3 separate regions of the Homo sapiens genome follow, and all the other regions are linked to region 1. Evidence: promoter capture Hi-C in 16 types of primary human blood cells and fetal thymus (Javierre and others, 2016). All regions are on one chromosome and are shown on one strand. The core of a region is centred on a gene start or on the middle of the fragment in contact, and the rest is flanking DNA. Distances in the headings are between cores, read along the strand shown.

Region 1 (3,032 bases), core at 372-2,871:
AGTCATTTGTGGGTAAGATAATTTTCTTGATCCTTATATTTTAGAATTTTCATTTTCTTATTTAGAAAAAAGATTCAGAACATTTAATGAAAACTGCCAAATTGATAAAGGCAGTCAGTAAGGAAGGAGATAAATTACTGCTCTATTAGCAGTGAAAGTAGGTCACCGAGTATCAGGCAGTTATTACATTTAATAAAAAACTTTCTAAGTATTTTGTTTTTACTCGTGTTTTTAAAATTAAGGTACATATACAACAGTATTGGCTTGACAATATATTTTCTAAGGAGTGATGTATATAACATGATGTTTGCACATCAGTTGCTCGGTATTGTTAACTTGCAAAATAAATTGCTAAATGTTACTGTTATAAGTTCAAAATCACTAAGAGGAAATTAATGTTGTAAGTGTGGCTTTACACTAATCAATTATTTAGAGAAGTTTGTTTTACGAGTTAGTGACTGTATTCACAAGAATAGATCACAAAAGGAATACAGGAGAAAGAAAATGTATGTATTAAGTACACAATCTTATAGAACACATTGGTGTCCTTAACATTAGGTTTGCACTTTAACCCACTGAAAAGGAATTAATGCTCATTACAAGGATAATAAATAACACAACATCAAGGAAATGCCATTTGCTGCATATGAACATTCTCTCTTAATCTACTATTCAGTTATTTACTATATCTTCCCAGGAGCTATCCACTATTCATTAAATACATTCTCCTATTTGTATATAAGCCTTTAAACAAAGAGAATCCAACCTAAGCTTATTGTAATTCTTGCAAATATTACTTACGTTAATGTGGCATATGCTGCTCTTTAGAACCTGTACCATAGAGCAAACCATTGCCTGGCGGGATACACACAACTTCAACACAGCCCTTGCACCATAAACACGCACCTCCGCTTCGACAAACTCTGATTTCCCTTTAGTCCATTCATAAATGCCATGATCCCAAGTAGGAACAACCTGTCATTACCTTTAAACATACTAAAGAGTCTAGAGAGGAAGGCTGAATTTTCTTTCAAACTTCTCGGAGTACCACATGGTCATAATTAGAAAATAAAATACTGCCTTGGCTATTTGGCAATTAACATAACTGGGTTGCAACGCTGGAGGATTTTCTTTCTTTCTTTCTGCTCAAATTGGCAAACAAGGTAATTGCTCGAAATGGTGTCAGATTAAAAACACATTTTCAAAGTTTAGACCATCTAAAATTATCTCCTGAAGTGTTTTAGAAGACAGTTGGAAAAAAAAAAGGCACATCTTTCCTTCACTCTCAGAGCAAACTGCTCTATTCGGAGGCACCTTCCCGACGTGCAAGGCTTCGGTGAGAACGTGCTTTGAAGAGCGTGAGCCCCGCGGGGCAGAGCTCCGTGCGTCGCGGTACCTGGCTTACCTTCATTGGAAGGCTGCGGAATCAGTTCCCCGAAGCTGTCGAGAACAGAGCAGCTGAGAAGGAGGAGGATGGAGAGCTGACAATCCATGTTGCTGGTGCAGAGGGCAGTGAGAGGAGCATATCTCCATGAAGCATGCCACTGATGTGAGGGGGAGCGCTCTGATTGCTGGAGAAGTTACCATGCTCCGCTCGCAGGCTGATGTCAAGTTTGACACTGGAGATAAGGAGGAGTCTGGCTGCCTTTCCGCGAACCCCGCTCGGGGACTTCCCTGGGTCCTAGTGCCGTCTTCAGCGTGCGCTGAAGCAGAGCGGGATGGCACGCAGCTGGCTCTGCAGCCCAGAGCTGCTCGGGAAGGAGACCGGGTGGGAGTGGGGGCGTCGCCCATGGGACAGGAAACACAGAAGATGTGATGAGGCCGCGGTGCTGAGAAAAATGCTCCCTCTTTTGTGTTGCATGAAAAGTAGCTGTTTTATTGTTTGCTATCCATGCTCTGTTGCTTAATTCACCGAAGAAATCACAGCCTTGATAGGAGTATCATATGGCAATGTGAGTGCAAAAGGAACTGAAATGCGAGAGAAACGTGTGTTTTGAAAGAATAGCAGTCTTTCGTTAAAAAGTCAATCATGTTTGTATAATTGAAAAAAATGATTATAGTTATTCCTTTACTGTGTTCAATGTGATCATAACTCTCCATGAGTTCTTTGTGATTCAGAAAGACACTAATACACAGCCTGAATCAGAGGGTCTCTGCATTTCCACACCCAATGGTATCGTGGCTTTTTACTAGATCTGGCACAGTGATTTTCCGCGCACATAGAGCATACTTTGTTTTTTTTCAAACAGGGAAGTTGACCTTCATCATCTTACGGAAGGGAGCAAGTCTAACCCCAGCCGGAGGTCTACATTCTTTTCTCGTTCTGTGTTGTAAAAGTAATACAGATCAAACCTAAATTTCTTAATAATACATATCCCCCTCCCTCACCATCTCACATTAGGATCTCTGGGTTCTGCAAGAGAAACAATGCATAATTCACAGCTCCTCCATTCAACTTTCAACCACTGATAGTCTAATAATATTGGGGTATTCTTATTCTTTAACATTCCAAATCCAAAAGCTAAATAATAATGTCCTCGTACTTTCTCACTTATTTTACACCATGACTATCAATGGTCTCTGTTATTTCCAATCCCATTGCTGAACAACCTATTGCAATCTAGTTCAGCCAAACAATTTTGTAATTTATATTTTAATAACCAGCATCACTTATCTTTAAAATATCTCCCAGAAAATGGTTACTCAGATATCCTTCCGCCCATCTATCTCTTCTTATACTAAAAAGAAAACAAGATTATTATATTCCTCTCACAACTTCAGAAAATAAAGGTATGTTGATAATCTTAAGATCAGTGATCAATTTTAGAGCTCTTGATAATGAAACTTAAATGAAAGTTTGAAAAGCCCTTGCTAATAATGTATTCAGTCCACAAACTCAATGTTTTTAGTTAGAGAACACAATTTTCACTTGAATTTAAGTTAATGGTGCCAGATAATAGTTTGATGACTGGGGTGGGGAATTGGGGTGGATAGAAGCAGCCAGGGGAAAAGAGAGATCCTTCTCACTTTTC
Region 2 (2,744 bases), core at 163-2,662, 1.0 Mb before region 1:
TTAGAAAATTTGTCAACAAAAGCACACAAATTGAATCCTGTTTATTTTATTGTAATTAAGTCAAGAGTGGACATTTTCTACACTATCCCTTAAGAAATAAACAATAAGGTAAGTTACTTTTTACTTTTTTTACACTATTTATTTTTCCAATATGAGAATAATTAGTGAGCTCATTCTTTTAACAGCTGTCCCTGTTGTTCAGGATTTTTCTAAGAAGATCAGGGCCACTGGATGGAAAATAGAACTTAAAAAATCTAATAATAATAATAAAAAACCCACAAAGCATGTCTGAGGAATTAAGTAAAAACAATAAATAAGTCATTTTACAAGAGTTCAGTGATCTGGAACTTCCTATTCCACTTACCCACATTGAGGTTGTGTTGGTTAGTGTCAGTGGGAAATCTTACCCTGAAATGGAAAAATATTAGCAATGAGTCAGCCTCAAAGGGTTCACATTGAGTTTGAATAAGTATCCTGAGTTCAAACGTCTATTGGGATCTTAGTTAAACCTCTACCATCTACTAGTGCAGACCAAAAACTTTGACAGAACTGGCTTTTTTCCAGTATTGCTCCAGCATCTTCTGTCTCTATCAGAATGTTAATTTCTAAATTCCCTATATCCCTTATGTTTAATATATTTTCCATTCTTGCTCAATGGGTGTTCCTTCTTCACAGACATAGTAACGTTGAAAGTAAATTTACATATGCAGAAGATATGCAGTGGTAGGAAAAAGGTGAAGAAAATCTAACACCAAAGAAGTAAAACTCAGAGTTTTAGAGCCTCTGATTATAAGTGAATATGAGAAACACATGGGAAAAGAAAAGGTTAAAACTTTACAAAATTCTGCAAAAATGCATGACAATAAGTAAAAACAGTGTTAAGTTAGCTGGTTACATACATTAAATGTCATTTGATGAGGTCTTTGTAAAAATAATTCAAGCTATTAGATCTTTGGTTTGCACTGCCAAGCATAATTTATCCATTATCCGTTCCTCGTTAAATCAGAAAATTTCATATAATGTATCTTAGTAATTTAAAAAAATGTGATATGGGGGTTGGGAATTCTGAACATCAATATTCTTATTACTAGACTTTCTTCATACTACACAAACTAAATCTTAAAGGAGGTTCTGTTTTATCCTAGAGTAATTCCCTAGCTATGACATCTTAAAATTTCATGCCAGTGTGTTTAGAGTTGAACAAATTAGGAAGATATGGGGAGTAAAACTGGCCCTTTTGTAATTCTATAATAAATTATTATTATATATTTTGCTAACTTTGTTTGCAACTTCTAATAAAATATTTGATTGTGGCAATAATCATTAACAAGTGATAAATACTATTAGGTGAAAGATTGCTACAGATATTCATGAGATGTAAAAATATCATCACAAATATTACTTGTTGGTCACCAAGGGAAAAAGATATACTTTTATAGAGAAGGGATAAAGCTGTCACCCCATCAACTGAGAATCCAATGTTAGCATCACTAATATTGCAGATGTGATGTATGTCTTATTGTGATGCAGTATGAGGTACATAGCATCACCTATAAAGTATTATGTTGCATCACACTCCAGCACAATGTTTGTTCTAATTGGCTTCAAGACTTCTTTTGAATTTTGAGAGAATTTCAAGATGAAATGAGTATTAAATGGTACAAAAAATTAAGTTTGTTAAGTGCAATAATGGTGTTTTCTTATACAGGAAAACATTATCTTTAAGGATTACAAATAGTGATGTGGTGTTGTATTTAGGGCTTAAATATCATGATGTCTATATTTACTCCAAATTATAACACAAAAATAGATTAAATAATATAGTAATTGCCAGTTGTTAATTGTGATGATGAATGTATTACTCAGGGTTCTCCAGAGAAACAGAACCAAACGAATGTATGTGTGTATATATACATATATACGTATATATACACCTATATATACATATATACGTATATATACACCTATATATACATATATACACATATGCACACATACGTGTGTGTATATATACACATATCTATGTGTGTGTATATATATGTACATATATATACACATATTTATGTGTGTGTGTGTGTATATATATATATAGACTGAGAGAGAGAGAGATTTATATTAAGATAATTTTGTTTTAAAGAATTGCCTAAAATGATTATGGAGACTTTACCAGCCAGTCCAAAATACGCGGGGTGGACCAGAGAAGGGCCAGTGTTCAGGTGAAGTCTGAAGGCCATTTGCTGGGGAAAGCTCAGTCTTTTGTTCATTTCAAGTTTTCAAATGATTGTATGAGGCCCACCCACATCATGGAGGACAATCTGCTTTACTCAAAGTTCATGGATTTAAGCATTAATCTCATCCAAAAACTTGCTTACAGAAACATCCAGAATAATGTTTGACCACATATCTAGACACTGTGGCCCAGCCAAGTTCACACATAAAATTAACCATCACAATGGGTATATGAAACTTATTATTTTTCTACCTTTCTGCTAGATTTAAAATCTTCGAAATTAATATTTTTTAAAATATTTAAAAATTTATCTTGTAGATATTTATTTCTTATAAAATGTTGTTCCATTAGTTGTTGTTTCATTAGTTGTATGAAAAATTAAAATATGAATTCTGAGAATACAGAAAAGTTTATTATCAGTGCTTACTTTATCAACCTTAGTCAATGACATTTACACACTGCTCTTTACAGTATTATACAGAGAACAGAAACGAAAAAGAAAAAAAAAATTGAA
Region 3 (2,759 bases), core at 11-2,510, 1.8 Mb after region 1:
ATATCCATCCAAAATTATTTGAAGTCTAAAGAATTCAGTATTAATTAATCAATTTTGATGTTTCATTTAATTATTTGTATAACAATTGGTAGAGAGCAATCACAAGCATATATTAGATTATTATTGTACTTTTTATTCATGCAATTTCTTTACGTAATTTGAAAGGAAAAAAAATAAATCAAACTTGTATTTTAGAATTAGGTTGGCAAGCCGGGTGCGGTGGCTCACGCCTGTGATCCCAGCACTTTGGGAGGCTGAGGCGGGCGGATCACGAGGTCAGGAGATCCAAACCATCCTGGCTAACACGGTGAAACCCCGTCTCTAACTAAAAATACAAAAGCAATTAGCCGGGCGTGGTGGCGGGCGCCTGTAGTCCCAGCTACTCAGGAGGCTGAGGCAGGAGGAGAATGGCGTGAACCCAGGAGGCGGAGCTGGCAGTGAGCTGAGATCGCGCCACTGCACTCCAGCCTGGGCGACAGAGCGAGACTCCGTTTCAAAAAAAAAAAAAAAAAAGAATTAGGTTGGCAAACCGTTTTGTAAAGGGCAGATAAGTATTTTGGATTGTGTGGGCCAGCCCATCTATAACACAGTTGTTCAACTCAGCTGTTGGTGTGAAACATTCATAGACAATACACAAATGAACATACATAGCTACGTTCCAGTAAAACTTTATTTACAAAATGAGTGGTGGCCTAGATTTGGCTGCCTAAAGAGTTTTCCTAGTGTGTTGTTCTAGGGTGTTGGTGAGAATATATTAAACTAAAAACATATATCTTATTTCAATTGTACGTAGAGATACAAGTTTATAAAGTAAATAAAGCAATATTCCCTCAGTAGAGTAGATTTTCCTTAAACACTTTCTGATATTCAGCAAAACTTATGCTAGCAAACATATATAATGTGATCTTTGGTACTGCAAATTTTGAAAATACTTTGCAGTACAGCATAACTTTGTTTTAAAAATATTATAATCGTTCATGTATTGATGGTTTCAGTGGTAAGATTAGATAAAACAATAAAATAAATAGTTGTTACATTTTTCTTGAAAATTGAAACAAATAATTATCATTTACTGATGATTCAGAGTTGATTTTAAACAGTTTCATTATGGAGTATAATTTTTTTTATTAATAAATAAGTACATTTGGAACCTTCTAAGCAAATGCCACTTTAAAGCTTTTCATAAATATCTGCCTTTATCTTAGGCAGATTTGCCCTGGAAACACACTCAATGTGTATTCTGGGTGCTCCTCTTTTGCATAGCTCCAAATTTTCTGAAGAAACAGATATATACCTTTCATCATCTCTGTATAATTCATAAAAGTACCCAGAAGTCAAGCTTTAACTTTTTATTTGCAGGTTTTAATAAAGAAAAATATTAAAATATGACTTGACTTTAGAAGTTGATTTTCCTGACAGCAATCAATAGTCCCAGCGAAATGTTAACAATTCATTTTGTTTTCCCTGGTTCAGTGTATCATAGTGCCACCTGCTGGTGTAATTAAAGAAATTGCCAGTATAATGGAGGAAAAAGCAAACATAGTGGGCATAGTATGAAAGTGGACCGTGAGAATCTAGAAAGTTAAGTAATGTACTGTATGCAAAGTACGTAAAGTTACTTTAGCTAATTTGAATTTTACTTTTTAAAAATTCATTTAAAAATGCAGTAAAAGTGTCCATCCAAGACCTGGAAAACGTTTGTAATAGCAAAAGTTTCTAATGAGGAGTTGACTTTAGGTACAAGAATTGCTTTTAATTCAACTTTTTGTTTGAAATTGTTCTAAATTTTTTATATAAAAGCATTTTAAGAATTTTTAAGACTATTTGAACGCAATTTGTGCGATGCACACTCATCAATAATAAACATGCCTTTAATCAATTTTCCATTGTATTTCCTGAGTCTGTGGGTGAATGATCACTGCATGCTACAGTCAGAGTAGCCTGCAATACAGGCCTCTCTCTTCCCCTCTCAAGTTCTCTAATTTCTTTTATTCATGGAAATCACCTAAACAATTAACAGAAATGTAAACCTGCATTTAAAATAAAAATAATTAGAATGGAAGTATTGGTGCCAGCTTACAAAAGGCTTATAATTTAACTCTAGAGTGTTTGTATGGGGAGAGGCCAGGAATGACAGATCCCTGCTTAGAAACTTTGTTTGTTTTTATTGAATAAATGAAATAAAAGTTTTACCACTCTGGATTAACTCTCAGCAATTGGCTCTTAATTTTGTTTAACTCATCCTTCCAAACATATTTTGGATAACAGTTTACTGTTCTTTTCCTGGGGCAGAAAAATAAAGTAGGGGAGAAATGGCAAAGCAGATGCACCCTGAAGGTGAAATTTTGTAACAGGCAAAGTTTATAAAGTCACGTTTCTGAGCGTTTTTCGGAGGGGATTCTAGAAACGCTCATGTCTTTATGCTGTGCTCTAGTTGCACAGTGCTGCCATGAAAACATTTAGTACTTGGAATATTTGCTGTCTCCCTTAATGTAGTCATCCATGTGCCTGCCATGAACCAAAGGTCACAGTACCCCTCTCTGCATCCTTTCTGCTACATAACTTGGATATTTCTTTTCTTGCTTCATTTGTAATTCTCTGGCTTTCAATACTTTTTTTGTAAGTGACTTAAAAATTTTTTAAAAAATAGTCTGGGTACAAAGCATAAATATACTCAATAAAAAAATTTACTGTAGGTTTTATTCTCTTGAAGACCTTTTTTGGGGAAAAATGATCAGTTTTACCAGTAACTTAAAGAA

Evidence for each region. Contacts are between HindIII fragments. The CHiCAGO score rates a contact against its expected background, and 5 or more counts as called.
Region 2: a contact is called between a fragment that was not itself captured here and the fragment with the promoter of EPHA3 in region 1, in 1 of 17 cell types (M2 macrophages). The highest score is 6.2, in M2 macrophages.
Region 3: a fragment that was not itself captured here is called in contact with the fragment with the promoter of EPHA3 in region 1 in 3 of 17 cell types (M1 macrophages, total B cells and naive B cells); the score reaches 6.5 in M1 macrophages.

What each region holds. Positions count from the first base shown.
Region 1 is chr3:89,106,210-89,109,241 of GRCh38, reverse strand. EPHA3 (EPH receptor A3) reads right to left here and starts at 1,621. Exons shown (of 17, transcript NM_005233.6): 1 at 1,406-1,621. The coding sequence starts at 1,493. RefSeq lists an enhancer at 1,640-1,779. The HindIII fragment of the contact is 3,372 bases long and covers 774-3,032 here.
Region 2 is chr3:90,130,061-90,132,804 of GRCh38, reverse strand. No RefSeq gene overlaps it. Among named protein-coding and RNA genes, the nearest start is that of EPHA3, 1.0 Mb to the right of the region's middle. The HindIII fragment of the contact is 2,907 bases long and covers 1-2,744 here.
Region 3 is chr3:87,297,037-87,299,795 of GRCh38, reverse strand. No RefSeq gene overlaps it. Among named protein-coding and RNA genes, the nearest start is that of POU1F1, 22 kb to the right of the region's middle. The HindIII fragment of the contact is 163 bases long and covers 1,179-1,341 here.